3 separate regions of the Homo sapiens genome follow, and all the other regions are linked to region 1. Evidence: promoter capture Hi-C in human tissues and cell types (Jung and others, 2019). All regions are on one chromosome and are shown on one strand. Each heading gives the region's core, a stretch centred on a gene start or on the middle of the fragment in contact. The rest is flanking DNA. Distances are from core to core; before and after follow the strand shown. Region 1 holds the start of PDE4B (phosphodiesterase 4B). Region 2 overlaps PDE4B (phosphodiesterase 4B). Region 3 overlaps PDE4B (phosphodiesterase 4B).

Region 1 (2,790 bases), core at 132-2,631:
TTCCAGCAGCTGGAAATCTTTGAAATTAAACGATGCATGTGATTCAAAGAACAGTTATATCTCAGATCTAAGATGCAGAATGCATAGAGTTACCATTTCTGTTCAGTGGCATCATATAATTATGATGTAAACCTAATGTAAGTACAATGTAATTTTAGGTGACCGTCTCAAAGTCTTGCTAAAAATTATCCCAGGCACGTGTGTGACACACACAGACACACACACACACATATATAACTACTGTAATTAAGAGCGATTCTTCTGTGCGCTCCTCCTTATACACGCTTTAAAGCTGTTGGCCATAGTGGGTTCCGATTTGTGTTTGAAGTACCGCACAAGGAAGGTGGCCTGTGAAAAACGGGAAGGAAGGAGGCAAAACAGGAAGATGGAAGAAGAGAGTAGGCATGAAGGAAAGTGACAGGAGAAAGGAGGAGAGCCTCTTCCTTCCCCAACACACTCTTGTAGCTAGAAAGGTCCAAGCCCCCTCACCAAACACCAGACAAATCTTCCCAAAAGTTCCTGGCAGAGCCTTGGTGATGCCGAGGCTTGAGTGCGCCCCTCCTTGGTGCCCCAGCCACCAGGGCACGCAGGAGCATCCTGGAGCCTCAGCCCAGCAAACTCTTGGGTAGTTCAGGTTCCCTTCCGCGCCCGCTGCCTGCAGTCAATCACTGGGCACCGCGCGCCCATCCGTCACCTACTCCAGGGCTTCCAAGCCCTGAATCCTTCTGCCTCTCTCCATTCTCCCTTAGCCTCTCTCCATCCTCTCCTCCCCAGTGACTTGTCAAGAGGTCCAAGGGCGGAAGCCGAAGCAGAGAAGATGAGGGCGAAAGGCTAGGGGCCGGTTGGCGGATTTCCTACAAGGGGCGACAATGACGCCGTCAAGACGACCATCCAGGCCCGGCGGCCCCATTCCCTCTTTGCCCCACATCAGCCCCACAGCACCCTACACTCTCCATTGAGGCTTCAGTGTGTGATGAAGTAAGAGAATGAGGAAAAATAAACCCGCAGCCTCCTAGGCAGCCCTTACCTCAGGCTGCCCTCGCAGAAGCCGCCCTCCTCCTGCCCGAGGCGCCTCTGCTGCACCGCCGCGGCCGCAGCGCTCTGGACGCCGGGGCTCCGCCCGGCGCGGGTAGACCATGCGCTGCGAGTGAGCCTTCCGCGCTCCCGGGGGTGGGGGACGAAAGTCTGCCCGGAGGGCGCTCGCGTGCAGCCCGGCCCGCGACGAAGAGCCTGCAGCCGCTGAGGCGAGGCCAGGAGCCCCGGGAAGGGGCGCGCGGGCCGGGGGCGCGCGCGCGGACGGGCCAGCGGGCTAGCCTGGGGAACCCGCGCCAGGGAGACACAGGCGCTGGCGACGCGCCCCTCAGCTCTTCTCTCGTCCTCTGGCCCTTTAAACCCCCTCTCCCTACTGTCCACCCCCGCCCCCCGGAAGAGAGACAGCTCGCCGGTGCCACTTGGTCTGCCGCGCTGCGCTCCTCAGCCGGGTGCGGGGAATAACAATGTGACCGTATCGCACGGACGAGATGCTGTGTAGTAGGTTGTAACTGCTGAGGCCACCACCTGTCAATTCTAGGGTGCAAAGCACGCCGTCCCCAGTCGTCTGGCCTCTCCCTGATTGCCCTCCCAGGTTATTTTTTCCCCCACCTACCTCACAGACCTCCTGCAATATTCCGCGGGCACGGTACCAGGGGAGTTTTGCAAAATAACCCTCTCTCCCAGCCGGGAGCTCACTGCATCTCCCTTACCACCAGAGCTGAAGGATTACGCACAGCCCTGCGTGCCTATCCAAAGCCAGAGACCGAAAATCCTGGTTTGAACCCCACACTCGCCGGCCCCCCAGCCCCCATTCATAATCCCAGCGGCCGTCTGCCACTACACACCCTCCCCCGGCCGCCCGCGCTCTTTCCCATTCGCCGTCCCTGGAACGTGTCAGTCACTCGCTGTGCATCTGCCATGAATACAAGACGAAGAGCTCTGCAGCTACTGGCTGCACAAAGAGGGACTGGGGCGCAGGGGACGCAGACCCCCGGGTTGGGGGAGGCGAGAGAGCCAGCGGGGCACATTACGTGGAAGGAGCCAGTGGGACCGTGGGAGTCCTCTGGTCTCCTGTTGCACAAAGGAGCGCCAGAGTGAATACGCGCAGTGCTCCTGAACCAACAGGTCAGATCACCTCCCAAGAGGTGCTCCACCAAGACACCCCTGAAGGTGAGTCCCACAACTTGGGAATTCGTGTGATGGAGCAACAGGCACTCAGTAACCTGACTGAGCCTGCTTTAAAAATGCAACAGGATGGAGAGAGAGCGAGAGCGAGAGCGAGAGAGAGAGAGAGAGAGAGAGAGAGAGAGTGTGTGTGTGTGTGTGTGTAGAGTGGGAGAGGTATGCTGGAAAGCACAAGTTTCCTTTTCCCCGGTTGTCCAGCCCTTTCAGTCAGAGAAAAAAAGAAGGAAGCTGGCAAGGAAAAGAGGAGGAAGATAGGCATGAAGTAACTTTGCCTATCCAACTACTACAGTAGCTAGAGACCAAAATGACTTTAATAGACAACATTCGCCTGTTTCTCGATTTATTCCAATAAACATCATGCACACCTACTGTGCACTGAGCACTTTGCAGAAGCTAAGGATGCAGAGTCGATTAGGACATAGTCTCTGCACCCAAGGAGCTCACTGCCTAATAGGAGAACCAACTATGAAAGCCCGAGACAAACAACACAAGTATTTCACAACAGAAGCACATGCCAATTGCATAAGTGGAAGCAATTTTTTCTATGTAAGAGAAGGAACAGGTCAGGGAATT
Region 2 (2,747 bases), core at 109-2,608, 72 kb before region 1:
ATTTACAAAATAAAAAAAAAGTTGGAGTTTTAGAGGCTCAATAATGATTAACCCCTCCCTTTCCCAAGATTGGAACTAATCAAATGAAAGAGACAAGTGGAGAGCAAAATATCATCTTTCATACTGATAAAGCTGTTGAAGAACATGGCTTGGTGTGAGGATAACCTGTCCGAGTCCAAATCTTGGGACAGCCTACTTATAGAAAGTTTAGGTCTACAGAGCAGCTACAATTCACACAGGATCAGAGCTTTGTACTAGTTTCAAGGAGTGGGGGTGGTGGAGTTGGGATGGAGGGAGAGAGGGAGACAGAGAGAAAGACTGTATCAGAGAGGGACTGAATTCAGGAGGATCTGGCAAGATGGCCGAATAAAAACGGCTCCAGTCTGAGCTCCCAGGGAGACCAACAAAGAAGTTGCGTGATTTCTGCATTTCCAACTGAGGTACCCAGTTCATCTCATTGGGACTGTTTAGGCAATGGGTGCAGCCCACGGAGGAAGAGCAGAAGCAGAGTGGGGCATGCCTCACCTGGGAAATGCAAACAGCCAGGGACCTCCCTACCTCAGCCAAAGGAAGCCGTGAGGGACTGTGCTATTGGGCCCACCTAGCACGCTTTTCCCATAGTTTTTGCAATCTGCAGATCAGGAGATTACCTCATGTGCCTACACCACCAGGGCCCTGGGTTTCAAGCAAAAAACTGGGCAGCTGTTTGGGCAGACACTAAGCTAGCTGCAGGAGTTTTGTTCCTCCCCTCCCCTCCCCGCCACCCCCCAGAGGCACCTGGAACCCCAGCAAGACAGAGCAATTCACTTCCCTGGAAAGGGGGCTGAAGACAGGGAGCCAAGTGGTCTCACTCAGCGGGTCCCACTCCCACAGAGCCCATCTAGCTAAGAACCACTGGCTTGAAATTCTCACTAACGGCACAGCACTCTGAAGTCTACCTGGGACCATAGAGCTTGGTGTGGGGAAGGACATCCGCCATTACTGAGGCTTGAGTAGGCGGTTTTCCCCTGACAGTGCTAAGGAGGCTGGTAGGTTTGGACTAGGCAGAACTCACCACAGCATGGCAAAGCAGCTGTGGGCAGACTGCCTCTCTAGATTCCTCCTCACTGGGCAGTGCATCTCTGAAGGAAAGGCAGCAGCCCCATACAGGGGCTTATAGATAAAACTCCCATCTCCCTGGGACATGGCTCCTGGGGGAAGGGGCGGTTGTGGGCGCAGCTTCAGTGGACTTAAACGTTCCTGCCTGTGGGCTCTGAGGAGAGCAGCTGATACTGATGAGGTGGATTCTCCCAGCACGGTGTTTGAGCTCTGCTAAGGGACTGACTGCCTCCTAGAGTGGATCCCTGAACCCCGTGCCTCCTAACTGGGAGAGACCTCCCAACAGGGGTCGACAGACACTTCATACAGGAGAGTTCCAGCTGGCATCAGGCTGGTGCCCCTCTGGGATGAAGCTTCCAGAGTAAGGAGCAGGCAGCAATCTTTACTGTTCTGCAGCCTCCACTGGTAATACCCAGGTGAACAGGGTCTGGAGTGGAGCTTCAGCAAATTGCAGCAGACCTGCAGAAGAGGGGGCCTGACTGTTAGAAGAAAAACTAACAAACAGAAAGCAACATAAACATCAACATCAACATAAAGGACCCCCGCACAAAAACCCATCCAAAGGTCATCAGCCTCAAAGATCAAAGGTAGATAAATCAACAAAGATGAGGAAAAACCAGGGCAAAAATGCTGAAAATTCCAAAAACCAGAATGCCTCTTCTCCAAATGATCGCAACTCCTCTCCAGCAAGGGCACAAAACTGGATGGAGAATGAGATTGAAGAATTGACAGAAGTAGGCTTCAAAAGGTGGGTAATAACAAACTCCTCTGAGCTAAAGGAGCATGTTCTAACCCAAGGCAAGGAAGCTATGAACTTTGATAAAAGGTTACAGGAACTGCTAACTAGAATAACCAGTTTAGAGAAGAACATAAATGACTCGGTGGAGCTGAAAAACACAGCACAAGAACTTCGTGAAGCATACACAAGTATCAATACCTGAATTGATCAAGCAGAAGGAAGAATATCAGAGATTGAAGATCAACTTACTGAAATAAGGTATAAAGACAAGATTACAGTAAAAAGAATGAAAGGGAATGAACAAAGCCTCCAAGAAATATGGGGCTCAAATTCACACATAATAATATTAATCTTAAATGTATATAGGCTAAAAGCCCCAATTAAAAGACACAGACTGGCAAATTGGATAAAGACCCATCAGTGTGCTGCATTCAGGAGACCCATTTCGTGGCAAAGACATACATGGGCTCAAAATAAAGAGAAGGAGGAATATTTACCAAGCAAATGGAAAGCCAAAAAAGCAGGGGTTGCAATCCTAGTCTCTGATAAAACAGACTTTAACTGACAAAGATCAAAAAAGAGAAAGAAACGCATTACGTAATGGTAAAGGGATCAATGCAACAAGAAGAGCTAACTATCCTAAATATGCATGCACTGAATACAGGAGCACCCAGATTCATAAAACAAGTTCTTAGAGACCTACAAAGAGACTTAGACTCCCACACAATAATAGTGGGAGACTTTAACACCCCACTGTCAATATTACACAGATCAACAAGACAGAAAATTAGCAAGCATATTCAGGACTTGAACTCAGCTCTGGAAGAAGCATATCTAATACACATCTACAGAACTCTCCATCCCAAATCAACAGAATATACATTCTTCTCAGCAACACATCGCACTTATT
Region 3 (2,700 bases), core at 88-2,587, 110 kb before region 1:
GTATAAAAAATTAAATTGCATCCATGATCCAAAACCCCCATTTCCATCCATCATGAAAAACCACTTCTTTTCATCTGATTTCTCAACAACAACATCAACAAAAGATTGAGAGCCCAACATGTGGTAGGGACTTGCTAGATGCCGTGGATAATACAAAGACGAATATACATAGTCCTTGGCCTTAAAATGCCCCTGTCTCATCTTAGGAGAGGAGAATCAACGCTTATTCATCCTACAATACTGAACACCTTGGCCTGGGTCAGGTTCACAGTGCAGTGTGAGAAGTGCAACAGATCATGGGTTCATTAGGTGAAAAAATGAGTGAAGCCACCTCTATGGGCAAAATGTTATCAAGGAAAGCTTCATTGAGGAGGCTACTGTCCTTTTCCAGGTATTGTAACTAAGAAACAAAGAGAGAAGCCCTTCCACTCCCCCTCTCTCTATTCTCCAGTGTGATCTTTTAAAAATGCAAAATTCCTTATATTAATCCCCAGCTTTGCATTCTTCATGCTTTCTGTAATTTTTAGGATAAAGCAAAACCCTTAATATGAAGATTAATCATACAAGTCCCTACAGATCTGGTCCCTGCTTGACTTTTAAACCTCAACTTCCTATTTTTGCTTCCACTTGCTTCCCCACCTTATGCTTATGCCACATCACTCTCCCCTGTAACTCATTTAGCTTTAGTTCGACTGGATGTAGAGTGTATCCAGCATGCCCTTCTTGTCTCCAAACTTTTCCTACACTATAACATGTCTTCAACTTTGCCGGGCTAACCCATTCTTCAGCCTTCAGCTTTGATGTCATTTGTTCAGAAAAGCCTTTATGGACTTCCCCTACCTGTAAGAAGGTATTATCACATTATTTTTCTATTCACAGTATTTTTCACAATTACATATTTGTTTGTATGAATGAATAGGTTTATGCCTCCCAGAAGCTCATAGAGAATACTGCCAACCACTATATCTCTTGTGCCAAGCAATAAATATTTGCTGGAAAATGTTTGAATGAGTAGACTAGATAGGCTTGAGGCCTCTTGCTAGATTCCCTGAAAGTGTGATAATCCAAAAGCAGCAGATAGGAGGGGGCAGGAAATAGAATCAGAATGCCTGGTAAACTGCAAATGTCAGCTATATTGACAGGATACATATTCCTACTCTTCTGACAGAGATATGAATAACTTTATGGCAGGCACTATTCTATAGTCCCTAAATCTATCATCTCATGTAATTCTCACAACTATTTTTATCTCCATTTTGCAGGGGAGAATTCTGAGGCCCAGAAAGGGTGAATGACTCATCTAAGCTCACTAATCTAGGAAAAGGCAGAGAGACAGGATTCACACCCAGGCACTATGCCTGCAGAGCTCATGAAATTAACCATTACGTCTGCTGCCACTTGGAAGCAGCAAATAAGCATTGTTTATCAGAGAACAAGCAGCAAATAGGATGGGTCAGGGCCAAGAAACAGGATAATTGGGAATAAAAGTAGTATTTCAGAACAAGAAAGGAATCAGAAGATTTTTTTAATGATGAAACATAAAGGAGAGATATGCAGTTGGCAGAACATATGGAGCCTATGAACAGCTACTCTTTCATGTAATCTCATAGGAATTTACATTAAATTGGAAAACGTAAATTGTGTGTATAAAACTGTATATCTAAAACATAACTTAAAAAGCATAATAATTTGTCTCTGTTTTATCTTATGTTTCAACAAGAATTCACCAAGTATTTTTTCTTCTAAATTAGACTTTGATCCAATACTAAATTTTTTTTAAGTTAATACAGAAGACTCATGACATTCATTCACAAGTGCTATGTCTCTAGACTTCAAAAAATTGTCCACCTGTACAGTGCTGTTCAAACATGTTTCATGGGGTATATGGGACACAGACAGTAATTTGGTGTAAGTCTTCTATGTAGACTCAAAGACCCCAGACACTCTTCATCAAGTAACTTTTTTTCCTTTCTTGGGAAGACCACTGAAACAACAAAGGGCAATAGTTCATTCTTGTTTTAAGCAAGCAAGCACACAAAATTTCTGTGCATTCCTTTCTCAGAAATATAAATACTACATCATTACAGACTTCATAAGAGGAAGATAACAAAAATGTGAGAAATCTTTCCAGGACTTCAAATGAATTAATGGCCTAATATTTACTGGCTTAACTGAAATATAATTGGATATGAAGTCTGCCAGTGATTCCCTACCTAGAAGCAACATCCAATTTGGGCCTGTCTGTCCCAGCTCTATTAAAATGTCAGGGGATTCAGGTCTATGTGGACATACGAAAAATAAGCATGTAAACAGAAACAATTTCAAAAGCAGAAGGCTGAAACTCATGTGGTAATACTAGAATGCCACATAATATTGTTTTGATAGAACATAAAGGAACATAGAAATACATTTTTATTGGTCTTTAAGTGTCTTCATATTTAGAAACTATCATTTCCTTATTTATTTTTGTTTTTTTAAATTTTTTAAAAATTATTTTGAGACAGGCTCTTGCTCTATTGCCCAGGCACGACCATGGCTCACTGCAGCCTCAACCTCGTGGGCTCAACAGATTCTCCGACATCAGCCTCTCAAATGAGCAGGGACTACAGATGCACACTCCCACACCTGGCTAGTGTGTGTGTGTGTGTGTGTGTGTGCATGTGTGTGTGCATATTTTGTAGAGATGGGTTTCGCCATATT

Evidence for each region. The method cuts DNA at HindIII sites, captures the fragments that hold promoters and counts their contacts. A contact is called where the count stands out against the background at its distance.
Region 2: a fragment that was not itself captured here is called in contact with the fragment with the promoter of PDE4B in region 1 in 2 of the 25 tissues and cell types used here (neural progenitor cells and pancreas).
Region 3: a contact is called between a fragment that was not itself captured here and the fragment with the promoter of PDE4B in region 1, in 3 of the 25 tissues and cell types used here (IMR-90 fibroblasts, adrenal gland and bladder).

Annotation. Positions count from the first base shown.
Region 1 is chr1:65,791,486-65,794,275 of GRCh38, reverse strand. PDE4B (phosphodiesterase 4B) reads right to left here and starts at 1,381. Exons shown (of 17, transcript NM_002600.4): 1 at 1,028-1,381. The HindIII fragment of the contact is 13,295 bases long and covers 1-2,790 here.
Region 2 is chr1:65,863,442-65,866,188 of GRCh38, reverse strand. The region is part of intron 1 of PDE4B (phosphodiesterase 4B); the gene reads right to left. Among named protein-coding and RNA genes, the nearest start is that of PDE4B, 72 kb to the right of the region's middle. The HindIII fragment of the contact is 6,954 bases long and covers 1-2,747 here.
Region 3 is chr1:65,903,377-65,906,076 of GRCh38, reverse strand. All of the region lies in intron 1 of PDE4B (phosphodiesterase 4B), which reads right to left. Among named protein-coding and RNA genes, the nearest start is that of PDE4B, 110 kb to the right of the region's middle. The HindIII fragment of the contact is 5,447 bases long and covers 1-2,700 here.